Linked DNA regions of Homo sapiens: region 2 is linked to region 1. The links are contacts of gene promoters, found by promoter capture Hi-C in human tissues and cell types (Jung and others, 2019). All regions are on one chromosome and are shown on one strand. The core of a region is centred on a gene start or on the middle of the fragment in contact, and the rest is flanking DNA. Distances in the headings are between cores, read along the strand shown.

What was found. The method cuts DNA at HindIII sites, captures the fragments that hold promoters and counts their contacts. A contact is called where the count stands out against the background at its distance.
Region 2: a fragment that was not itself captured here is called in contact with the fragment with the promoter of MARVELD3 in region 1 in 3 of the 25 tissues and cell types used here (pancreas, spleen and stomach).

The regions. Positions count from the first base shown.
Region 1 is chr16:71,624,123-71,629,791 of GRCh38, reverse strand. MARVELD3 (MARVEL domain containing 3) reads right to left here and starts at 3,608. Exons shown (of 3, transcript NM_052858.6): 1 at 3,096-3,608; 2 at 298-425. The coding sequence starts at 3,562. RefSeq lists a silencer at 2,738-2,787. The HindIII fragment of the contact is 11,141 bases long and covers 1-5,669 here.
Region 2 is chr16:71,659,887-71,665,555 of GRCh38, reverse strand. It overlaps PHLPP2 (PH domain and leucine rich repeat protein phosphatase 2), which reads left to right. Exons shown (of 19, transcript NM_015020.3): 13 at 1,457-1,657. Among named protein-coding and RNA genes, the nearest start is that of SNORA70D, 36 kb to the left of the region's middle. The HindIII fragment of the contact is 7,294 bases long and covers 1-5,669 here.

The DNA.
Region 1 (5,669 bases), core at 2,359-4,858:
CACCTACAGGCCTCTGCACTTCCACCTGGAGTCTGAAAGCTGCAAACATGGCTGCTTGCCTTTGCAAACCCAGGGCATGTTTAAGGAGAAGCACAGGAAATCTAGCAGCACTTTTGAGACGTTCCTCCTTTTTTTTTTTTTTTTTTTTTAAGAAAACAAGAACCTCACAAGTACAGAAATGAAAATGCTAGGAACCCACAAGGGAATCTGCTTAAATTTTTGCTTCACCAGCTCAGACCATCCCTTCCAGAACCACCAGTGACAGTAAATGATCAAACAGCCTGCAAAACGGCTCACCTCTCCCAGTGCACAAGTATTTGCATTTGTGGCATTCCAGGAGTCCTTCCGCCTCTGACTGGTAATATTCCACCTCCTCTCGTCCAGGCCTGGGGGTCGAGGGCAGATATCTCTCCGAAGGGGGTTCACTATAACCAAAAAGCATACATGGTCATTAGGGGGTGTCTCATTCAATAGCGTTCAGGATTAGAACTCTTGACTCCTCGTGCTGGGCCCAAATATTAGCAGAACAGAAATAGAATTTGTCCCGGTATTTTAAACTCCAGAGAATTCTCTGGTTTAGTGGCCCCACGGGACATCCAAATACTTGGCCCAGCTCCACTAACCACGTGACAGATGCTGTGATTGGTACCGCTGATGGTTTGTCTGCCCCTGGGAGCTGTCTCACCAGGTAGCTGCGAGCTGCCTTCCTGTGAGTGCAAGTTCTCAGTTCAGCATGCACCAGGCCTCTTCAAAACCAGTTTGCATTCACATGACTCTGATGCCCAGGCAGGCATTCTCTTCCTCCCTTTGTTACTTTGGAAAGTGTTGAGTCAGCAATAACTCTCCAGGAGCATGGGAGCTGCAGACCACGGATTTTGACATCATCACATCATTTCCTCCTCTGGCAGCCCTAGCATTTTCTGTCCCTTCTCTCCTTGCTTTATGCAGCACATCCTGGGCTTTGTCCAAGATTCAACAGGGGGCTGCATTCTACTTGCCAGGCTCCCACAGTCTTTCTAGAACATCATGTCTCTCTTAGGTTTGAAATTTTTCAAACTTTTAGCATGCACAGGAGGCCCCTGTTCATCTCTCTACACTCACAACCTCATGCTCGCAGACCCAGCCATACTGAACTACCCCCTTCCCCTCAAAAGATGACTGCTTTTCCATGCCTCTGGGTTACTACAGAAGCTATTCTTCTCCTTGGGACACCTTTCCTCTTCCTCCTCAGTCTTCCTTTTTTTTTTTTTGTTTTGAGATGGAGTCTCACTCTGTCACCCAGGCTGGAGTGCAGTGTCGAGATCTCAGCTCACTGCAACCTCCGCCTCCCAGGTTCAAGCAGTCCTCCCACCTCAGCCTCCCGAGTAGCTGAGATTACAGGCGTGCGCCACCGCGCTCTGCTAATTTTTTTGTATGTTTAGTAGAGATGGGGTTTCGCAGTGTTGGCCAGGCTGGTCTCGAACTCCTTACCTCCAATGATCTGCCCGCTTCGGCCTCCCAAAGTTCTGGGATTACAGGTGTGAGCCACCGCGTCCGGCTCGGACAGTGGTTTTTAAAGAAACCTAAAAATGCAGCTCTGAATTCTCCCAGGTCCTGCAGTTGCAAGTGCAATGGGCTTTAGTCAGGGAAACAACAGCTGTTTCCCTGGGCGAAGCTTTGACTGTATCTGGGCGCACCCTTTGTTATGCTAGTTAGTTTTAGATAATGTAACATAAACTCAGGATAGGAGCTCTCCCGCTGTGTGGACATAGCAGGGAGACAGACTGGACTCAGCCTCCAAGTCCCTGGGAGAGGGGAGCCTGACTCCTCCCTAGAGGAGAGGCCAGGTGTCAAAAACCAGAAGCAGTCGTCACCTCGGACCTGTCTCCTGTTGGAGCTGGCAGGGGAGATATCCCATCTGCTCACAGTTCACCGTGTGGGGCACATTATCTGGGTATTCAATGGATGGAAAAAACACCAGGTCCCTAGGAGGCGGTGTGGGGACCAGGTCCCCTCTTGTCTTCCCTTCCCCCCCCACCCTCCCCTAGCTCACAGAGTCTTCCAGTACACCCTGAACCTTTCTCCTTACAAGGGGCCTATGGGAATTCTGTGCAAGGCAGAGATGGCAAAGTTTTTTCATTAGGAGGGTGCGGTCTCAAGCAGCCGTGGGATTCGAATGACGCTGCCTAGAGAGACCTCACTGGCAAAAGGGAAAACAAACCTGTACCCTTCAGTGGGAGAATTTTACGTAGACTTTGTTCTTTGGTTAAAAATGTAGCGTCTCCCATCTGACTTTTTTTTTTTTTTTTGAGACGGAGTCTCGCTTTGTCGCCCAGGCTGGAGTGCAGTGGTGCGATCTCGGCTCACTGCAACCTCCGCCTCCCGGGTTCAAGCGATTCTCCCTCCTCAGCCTCCCAAGTAGCTGGGATTACAGGCATCTGCCATCACGCCTGGCTAAGTTTTTGTATTTTTAGTAAAGACGGGGTTTCACCATGTTGGCCAGGCTGGTCTCGAACTCCTGGCCTCAGGTGATCCGCCCGCCTCGGCCTCCCAAAGTGTTGGGATTACAGGCATGAGCCACCGCGCCGGCCCACCTGTTTCTGAAGGCACCTATTCCTGGGAGGGGTAACACATTAAACTATTAACTCTTCATCGGGCTTCCCAAGTGGGCGGCCCGGCCACAAGGAAGGGGACTTTGGAGTCGGGAAGGGCTGGCTCTGGAACACGGGACAAGGGTCTGAACCCCAAGGCGCAGTCCTGTGACCATGCGGGCCGGGCCGGGGAGGAGCCTGGGGTGAACCCCACCCGCCTGGTCTCCTCCCACCCCTCCCTCTCGGGTCCCGGGGCCTCTCTTTCTCTTCTCCAGGTCCTCCAGCCCAGCCACTGCTCACAGGGGTGGTTTTTGCTTTGTTAGTTGGGTTCAGGCCACGAGAAGGGGGAACCCTAAAGTTTTCCTTCCCTGCCAGGTCGCCTCTGAGAGCGCAGAAGGGAGAAACGGCATTTGTTCATTTAAACGGGCTCCTAGGACGAGAACCCGGGGACGCCAGGGCCTCGCGGGCCGGCCTGGGCCACAGGTGTCCCCGGCGCGGAGGTCGCAGCGCCCCGGCCCCTCTCACCTTTCGGGTCTGCGGCGCCCGGGGTCTCCCTTCCTCTGCGGCTGCGGCGGCTCCGGGGCTTCCCAGGGCGCGGGCCCAGGAGGCGCGGCTGCGTCCCAGGTCAGTCCCCGGGCTCCGTCCCGCGTCCGGCTTTGGCGCGGTTTTTCCCAAACTCCGTGTTCACCTGCGCGAGGGCCCGCGTCCCTGTGTGTGTCCCGGCGGGGGCCTCGGTCCGGGTCTCTTTCCCTCTCTCTCTCCCTCTCCCGGTCCCGGTTCCGGTCGCGGTTCCCGTCCCTCTCCTGGTCTCTCTCCGGGTCCCGGTCCCCGTCCCTTCGCCGGTTCCCGTCGCTGCTTCGCTTCCTGCGCGGGTCCCCGGGTCGGTCCCGCGGTCGATCGTGGGTGCGGCCTTGGTCTGGGTGGGGGCGCCGTCCCGGGTCCCGCTCTCTCGGCCGGGCCCGGGGCTCGCGAGCCCCCGACGGATCTTCCATGGCCGGGTTCCGTGTCCCCGCCCGGGAGCGACCTGAGGGCAACAACCAACAAGTTTCTTGGGCAGGTGGCCAAGCCCGGGGGCGGGGCGGGCACTCACCTGTGCGCATGCGCGCTAGTCCGGGAGCTCACCTGAGAACGGGCGCCCTCAGGGGGCGGCCTGAGCGCGTCTGGGGCCCGGGCGGGAGGGGTGCCTGTGTGCTGGGTGGGGGCTGGGGTGCTGCTGCTGGAAACCCGGGCGGGGCGACCCACAGCCGCACCTTTCTGCCCCGAAGTAACCCCTTGGTGACCCCACGAGGTGGGCGGCCTAAGGGAGCCAACTGTGGCCACCTCCCCTGGCTCAACTTACACTGCAACTTGGATTTACCTTCCCAGAGGTACCCATCCTCTCACTCACTCAGCCAGACACTCATTCATTCACCCAATCACCCACTACCCGCTCATCCATTCACCCACCCATCCACCCACTCACCCACCCATCCACCCACTCACCCACCCATCCACCATCCATCCACCCATCCACCCACTCACCCACCCGTCCAACCATCCACCCATTCAACCACTCACCCATCCATACACCCGTCTATCCACCTATCCACCTACTCACCTACCCATCTAACCATCCACCCATCCATCCATCTATCCACCCACTCACCCACCCATCCACCACCCATCTACCCGCCCACTCACCTGCCCATCCGCCCACCCACCCACCCTCCATCCATCCATCCACCCATCCACCCACTCACCCACCCATCCACCCACCCATCTACCATCCGCCCACTCACCCACTCACCTGCCCATCCATCCACCCACTCACCTAACCATCCACTCTCACCCACCCATCCACCATCCATCCACCCACCCATTCACTCATCCACCCATCCACCCACCCACTCACCCACCCATCTACCAACTCACCCATCCATCCACCCATTCATCCACCCACTCACCCATCCAGCCACCCACCCACGCATCCACCCATCCACCATTCATCCACTCACCCATTCATCCATCCATCTGGCCACTAACCTACCCACACATCCACCCAGTCACCCACCTTCCACTTCTCCCTCCACCCATCCACTGTCCCTCTTTCTCCCTTCTCCTGTTTTCCTTATAACACCTATGTTGTAAGGGGCTTGCAGCCAGTTCATCTATCACAATAGTCCTGGGCTTACAAATAGCCCTGTTTTTTAAAATGGGGACTTACACAAAATTGGCAGCTTTTAATTCTGCCAAGTAAGGATATTACAAAATATATACAATTGCCATCTGGTAATTAATTCTTTCAGCAAATATGTATGAGCACCTGCTTTAGCAGGTACTGGAGATATAGTGGAAAATTTGCTTGCAGGGTGATTGCATTCTAGTGTGTCAGGAAAAGGGAAAACAGGTAGTAAACAAAGAAGACAGTGTCTAAAGTTTAATGGGAAGGGCAGGTTTCCTCATATAGACCTGGGAAGATGTCGTTTGAATTGAGTTCTGGATGACAAGAAGGCTGAGAAAATGTCCCAGAAAGAGAGAAGGTTGAGGAACGCGGGAGCTGGACAAGGAGGTCCCTGGGAGTAGAGTTGGTGGGCATGAATTGAGGCTGGAGAAGTGGACCAGGCAGATGGTGTAGACGACAGTGTGCATTTTTATTCTAAACAATGGGAGAACATTGAAGATTTTGAGGAGGAGAGTAAACCTTTCTGATTGATATTTTTGAAAGACCACTCTGGCTTCTGTGAGGAGGGTGGATGATGGAGGCCCAGAGTAGAGGGAAGAGATGAGTTACAAAGCTGCTGCTGAAGGAGTCCAGGTGAGGGTGACGGTGGCCATGGAGACAGTGACAAGTTGACAGATCCAGGTTGTAGTTTTGGGGAAGAATTTACAGTATGGATCAGATGTGGGGAAATGAGGGGAGGGGAGGAGTGACCAGGTGAATGGTGGGGTTTTTCACTGAGACGGGGGAGACTGGACAGAACCAGATTTGCGGGGAAATTAGAGAGTTCCATTTTGGACATGGTAAATTTGAGATGGCTATAATTCATCCAAGTGTAGATGTCTAGTTGCAGTTGAATATATGAGTCTGAAATATGGGGAGAGGATTGGGCTGGAGATGCT
Region 2 (5,669 bases), core at 1,428-3,927, 37 kb before region 1:
ATCAGGGATTATGGATCATACAACATGAAGAAGACCTGAGAACACACAAGTTTAGTAATAATAGCTGCCTTTTATTGAGAATGTTCTGTATATACTAAACACTATGTTAGCAAATTTTAAAATTATACCATGTTTTATCTACTAGACTGGCAAAGATTAATGGATTTGTAATATTCAGTGTTGACAAAGGTGTGACAAACTGGCATTCTTAATAGTCTTCTTGTGGAAGTATAGTTTATTTTTTTTTGAAATGCAGTCTAGCTGTGTCGCCAGGCTGGAGTGCGGTGGCACGATCTCAGCTCACTGCAACCTCCGCCTCCTGGGTTCAAGCGATTTCTCCTGCCTCAGCCTCCCAAGTAGCTGGGATTACAGCCATGTGCCGCCACACTCAGCTTTTTTTTTGTATTTTTAGTAGAGATGAGGTTTCACCATGTTGGCCAGGATGTTAACCATCTCCTGACCTCGTGATCCACCCACCTTGGCCTCCCAAAGTGCTGGGATTACAGGCGTGAGCCACCTCGCCCAGCCGGAAGTATAATTTCATATACTCTTTCAAGAGCTCAGTTTGGCAATATATTAAATCTCTAAAAAATGTATATCCTTTGATCCCACAAATTCTGTTTTTAGGAATGTACCCTAAGGAAGTAATTGGTTAAGGATACAAAGATGCTCATTACAGTGTCTATAATAGCATGTGTATAGAAATGGAAACAGCCTATATGTTCTTTATTAGGGGATTATGGAATTGGCTGAATACATAATGATGCTATTAAAACCAGACAAAAAAATTTTTTTTTTCTTCTTTGAGATGGAGTCTCACTCTGTTGCCAGGCTGGAGTGCAGTGGCACGATCTCGGCTCACTGCAACCTCAGCCTCCTGGGTTCAAGCAATTCTCCTGCCTCAGCCTCCCGAGTAGCTGGGACTACAGGAGTGCACCACCACACCCAGCTAATTTTTGTATTTTTTTTTTAGTAGAGACGGGGTTTCACCATGGTGGCCAGGATGGTCTTGATCTCTTGACCTTGTAGTCTGCCCACCTCAGCCTCCCAAAGTGCTGGGATTATAGGCGTGAGCCACTGCGCCTGGCCCAGACAAAAGTTTTTCTAAATGGTGTCTTCACAGTTCAAAAACATGTGAACATGATATTCAGCAACATCCTTTCAGTAGGCAGTTTGAGAGTAAAAGATGAAGTTAGGTTAGAATCAGGCACTCCAGAAGCCTGGGAAAACAACCAGGCTTGTACTTTTTCCTCTCTACTTGGTTTGCATGAGTTGAGTAAAAGGAACTTTGGGTTGGATAGGATCAATTAGAGAAAAACTACGTGGAGATTTTTTTTTTTTTCCCATTTGGAAGCTTAGAATGGCAGCATTCCATACTGAGGTGACATGATGGTTTCTATATAGGAAGGCAGCAAATAAACTTAAAGGAGGTGATGATCTGTGTGTGTTCTGTCAGTCTCAGATACTTGAATGCATCTGCAAATAGTCTGGAGTCTTTACCATCCGCCTGCACTGGAGAGGAGAGTTTGAGTATGCTGCAGCTGCTTTATCTGACCAACAATCTCCTGACGGATCAGTGCATACCTGTCCTGGTAGGGCACCTGCACCTGCGAATCTTGCACCTTGCAAACAATCAGTTACAGACCTTTCCTGCAAGGTAAAATGAATGCAAACTTTGATCATTTCAAATACACAACATTAATTCTATATTTGTCAGAAAAAATATAGCCATCTGACTATGACTCTTTGTTTACGTTCACTGACTTACAGATGCTATGATTTCACTAGTTGAGTGGCAAAATCTCATCTTAATAGTTAGTACCCTGTTAAGTATTGGTAACCAGGAAAATTGGTTAAAATATGTTTAATTTTTAGTTGTGACTTCTTAATTATGGTCTAATAGTCAATCTAGAAAAGTACAGGCTTATGAAACAGATTCTGAAGACAATTTTTTCTTTTCTCTTGTCAGCACTGTTTTGTAAAATACTGTTATCTATTTATTCATAATACAAAAATGGAATGCTTACTATATGTCAAGTATTGTGAACAGTTACAGTCTCTGTCCTCTAGGAATGTATAGTCAAATTGGGAAAATAAACAAGTGGATGGGCAGTTGCAGTGCAGTCTAAGAAAGGCAGGGTGTTTGGCTGGGAGTGGTGGCTCACGCCTGTAATCCCAACACTTTGGGAGGCCAAGGCGGGCGGATCACAAGTTCGTGAGTTCGAGACCAGCCTGGCCCATATGGTGAAACCCCATCTCTACTAAAACTACAAAATATTAGCCGTACGTGGTGGCACATGCCTGTAATCACAGCTACTCGAGAGGCTCAGGCAGGAGAATTGCTTGAACCCAGAAGGCGGAGGTTGCAGTGAGCCAAGATTGCACCACTGCACTCCAGCCTGGGCGACAGAGTGAGACTGTGTCTCAAAAAAATAACTAAGTAAATAAAATAAATAAATAGAAAGGCAGGCTGTTAAAGACGATATGCATACATTGCCGGTCACACTGCACAGAGCCTGGGGATGGGGCTAGGCTCCCTGGAGGAAGAGATGAATAGTAGTTAGCCAGGCTATACCTATAAGAAGACATAAGAAAGATGTTTAATGCTGTGAAAGTTTGAGACAGTGTCAGTGGATAAGTAAATACCTTTCAAAGTACATTTGGTTAAAAAAAAAACAACTTTAGAACTTTTTTTTTAAGAGATGGGATCTCATTACGTTGGCCAGGCTGGTCTCAAACTCCTGGGCTGAAGTGATTCTCCTACCTCAGCCTCTCAAGTACCTGAAACTGCAGACACATGCCACCATGACCAGCTAAAACCTGGAAAATTTAACACCAGAAAAATCTATGCCATGAAGGTAGTCATTAAAAATAATATTTTCAAAAACTAAGAATGTGAGGCAATGACATTTGATATTAATAATTTTGGATGAAATTATATGTATGTAAATTATAAAATTATAATTTTTATGAACATTTACCATTTACAACATGAGATAGAGCTTCAGAAGACATACAGGAGAAACTTGATTGGAGTTCAGGTGATTCTCCTGCCTCAACCTTCCAAGGAGATGGGACTACAGGCATGCACCACCATACCCAACTTATTTATTTATTTATTTATTTGAGATGGAGTCTTGCTCTGTTGGCCAGGCTGGAGTGCTGTGGCGTGGTCTTGGCTCACTGCAACCTCTGCCTCCCAGGTTCAAGTGATTCTCCTGCCTCAGCCTCCCAAGTAGCTGGGATTATAAGCATGTGCCACCACACCTGGCTAATTTTTTGTATTTTTGTAGAGACAGGGTTTCACCATATTGGCCAGACTAGTCTCGAACTCCTGGCCTCGTGATCCGCCCACCTTGGCCCCCCAAAGTACTGGGATTACAGGTGTGAGCCACTGCGCCCGGCCCGCACCCGACTAACCTTTTACTTGTAGAGGCCGGGCGTGGCCGCTCATGCCTGTAATCCCAGCACTTTGGCAGGCCGAGGCGGGCGGATCACGAGGTCAAGAAATCAAGACCATTCTGGCCAACATGGTGAAACCCCGTCTCTACTAAAAATACAAAAATTAGCCAGGTGTGGTGGTGGGCGCCTGTAATCCCAGCCACTTGGGAGGCTGAGGCAGGAGAATCGCTTGAACCCCGGAGGCAGAGGTTGCAGTGAGCCAAGATCGTATCACTGCAACTCCAACCTGGCAACGGAGCAAGACTCCATCTCAAAAAAAACAAAACAAAACAAAACAAACTTGTGTAGGTGGGATCTCGCTGTGTTGTCCAGGCTGGTCTTGAACTCCTGGCCTCAAGTGATCATCTCACCTTAGCCTGCCAAAATGCTGGGATTATAGGTGTGAACCACTGTGCCTGGTCAGCCTCCTTGAAAGAATTAAAACAATGACTTTTTACTTTTACATTTTTTTTTAATGACTTCTAAAATGAATGCAGAATCTTAATTTCAGGGTGTGGTAGCTCTCTTGAAATTTTATCAGATTAACCTAATTGACCTCAAATATGTTCATATAAAGTGAAAATAATAGACCACTGGAAGCTGTTGGATGGTACCAGGCATAATGCTGTAAAACCTAATTTGATGACACTTTTATTGTTGGAGGGGTCAAAAGCAGGTTGATATAAAACTTAAAACATATCAAAGAAAATGAAAATAAGAAGTTAGTAATAAAGACAAGAATTAGGCCTGGCACGGTGGCTCACGCCTGTAATCCCAGCACTTTGGGAAGCTGAGTTGGGTGGATCACGTGAGATCAGGAGTTTAAGACCAGCCTGGGCAACATGGTGAAACCCTGTCTCTACTAAAAATACAAAAATCAGCTGAGTGTGGTGTTGTGTGCCTGCCTGTAATCCCAGCTACTCAGGAGGCCAAGGCATGAGAATCGCTTCAACCTGGGAGGTGGAGGTTCCAGTGAACTGAGATTGCGCCATTGCACTGCAGCCTGGGCAACAGAGCGGGACCCTATCTCAAAAAAAAAAAAAAAAAGACAAAGACAAGAATTAACATCACAAAAAATAGAGTAATCTGAATATATATAATAAAACTGAATGGAATTCAGGAACAACATATTTTTAAAAATGTGTGTTCTGTACTAAATAATAAATCCACTATCAGTTCATTTCCTGAGCAGTGTTGTAATTGTATAGGCACAATAGAAATCTTGTTTGTTTCTTTTGAACTATTTTCAGAATCTAGCACAGTTCTGGGTACTCAGAAACTGATTGAGGAGGCTGCATTTCTATTTACAAGTCAGAAAAATCCAGGCAGGATAAGGGAAAAAAGCACGAGATTTGGACATGGGAACACTTTTAAAATATATTGTTAAATAAAATCATAAATACAATGTATAGGCCGGGCGCAGTGGCTCACGCCTGTAATCCCAGCACTTTGGGAGGCCGAGGTGGGCAGATCACGAGGTCAGGAGATCGAGACCATCCATCTCTACTAAAAATACAAAAAATTAGCCGGGCATGGTGGCGGGTGCCTGTAGTCCCAGCTACTTGGGAGGCTGAGACAGGAGAATGGTGTGAACCCAGGAGGCAGAGGTTGCAGCGAGCCAAGATTGCGCCACTGCACTCCAGCCTGGGCAACAGAGCAAGACTCCATCTCAAAAAAAAAAAAAAAAAAAAAATACAGTGTATATAATATAGTACCTTTTTTTTTTTTTTTTTTTTTTTTTTGAGACAAGGTCTTGTGTCACCCAGGCTGGTGTGCAGTGGTGCAGTAATAACTCACTGCAGCCTCAAACTCCTGGGCTCAAGCGACTGACCTGCCTTAGCCTCTGAAAGTACTGGGATTACAAGTGTGAGCCACCACACCTACCTGGCCTATAATACCATTTTTTAATTTGAAAAGTGTAGTTTCATGCCTTAAGAAAGACGAGAATACTATCTACTAAAATGTTATCAGAGATTATTTAATTTATTTTAATGAAGTAGCATTAAAAGATTTTTTTTCCTGTTTGTCTCTATTTTTCAGTTTTTTTCAGTGAGTATATATTATTTTTATCAGAAAAAATAATTGTAATTTACAAAGCTTAGTTATTTAAAAATATGAAATTTCTAGGAGTAGAAATTATTTATGATATGTTATATGAAAAAGGCAAGATATAAAATTTTTGTAAAACAAATATATGAAACATTTGATAGGAAATTCAGCAAAATGAT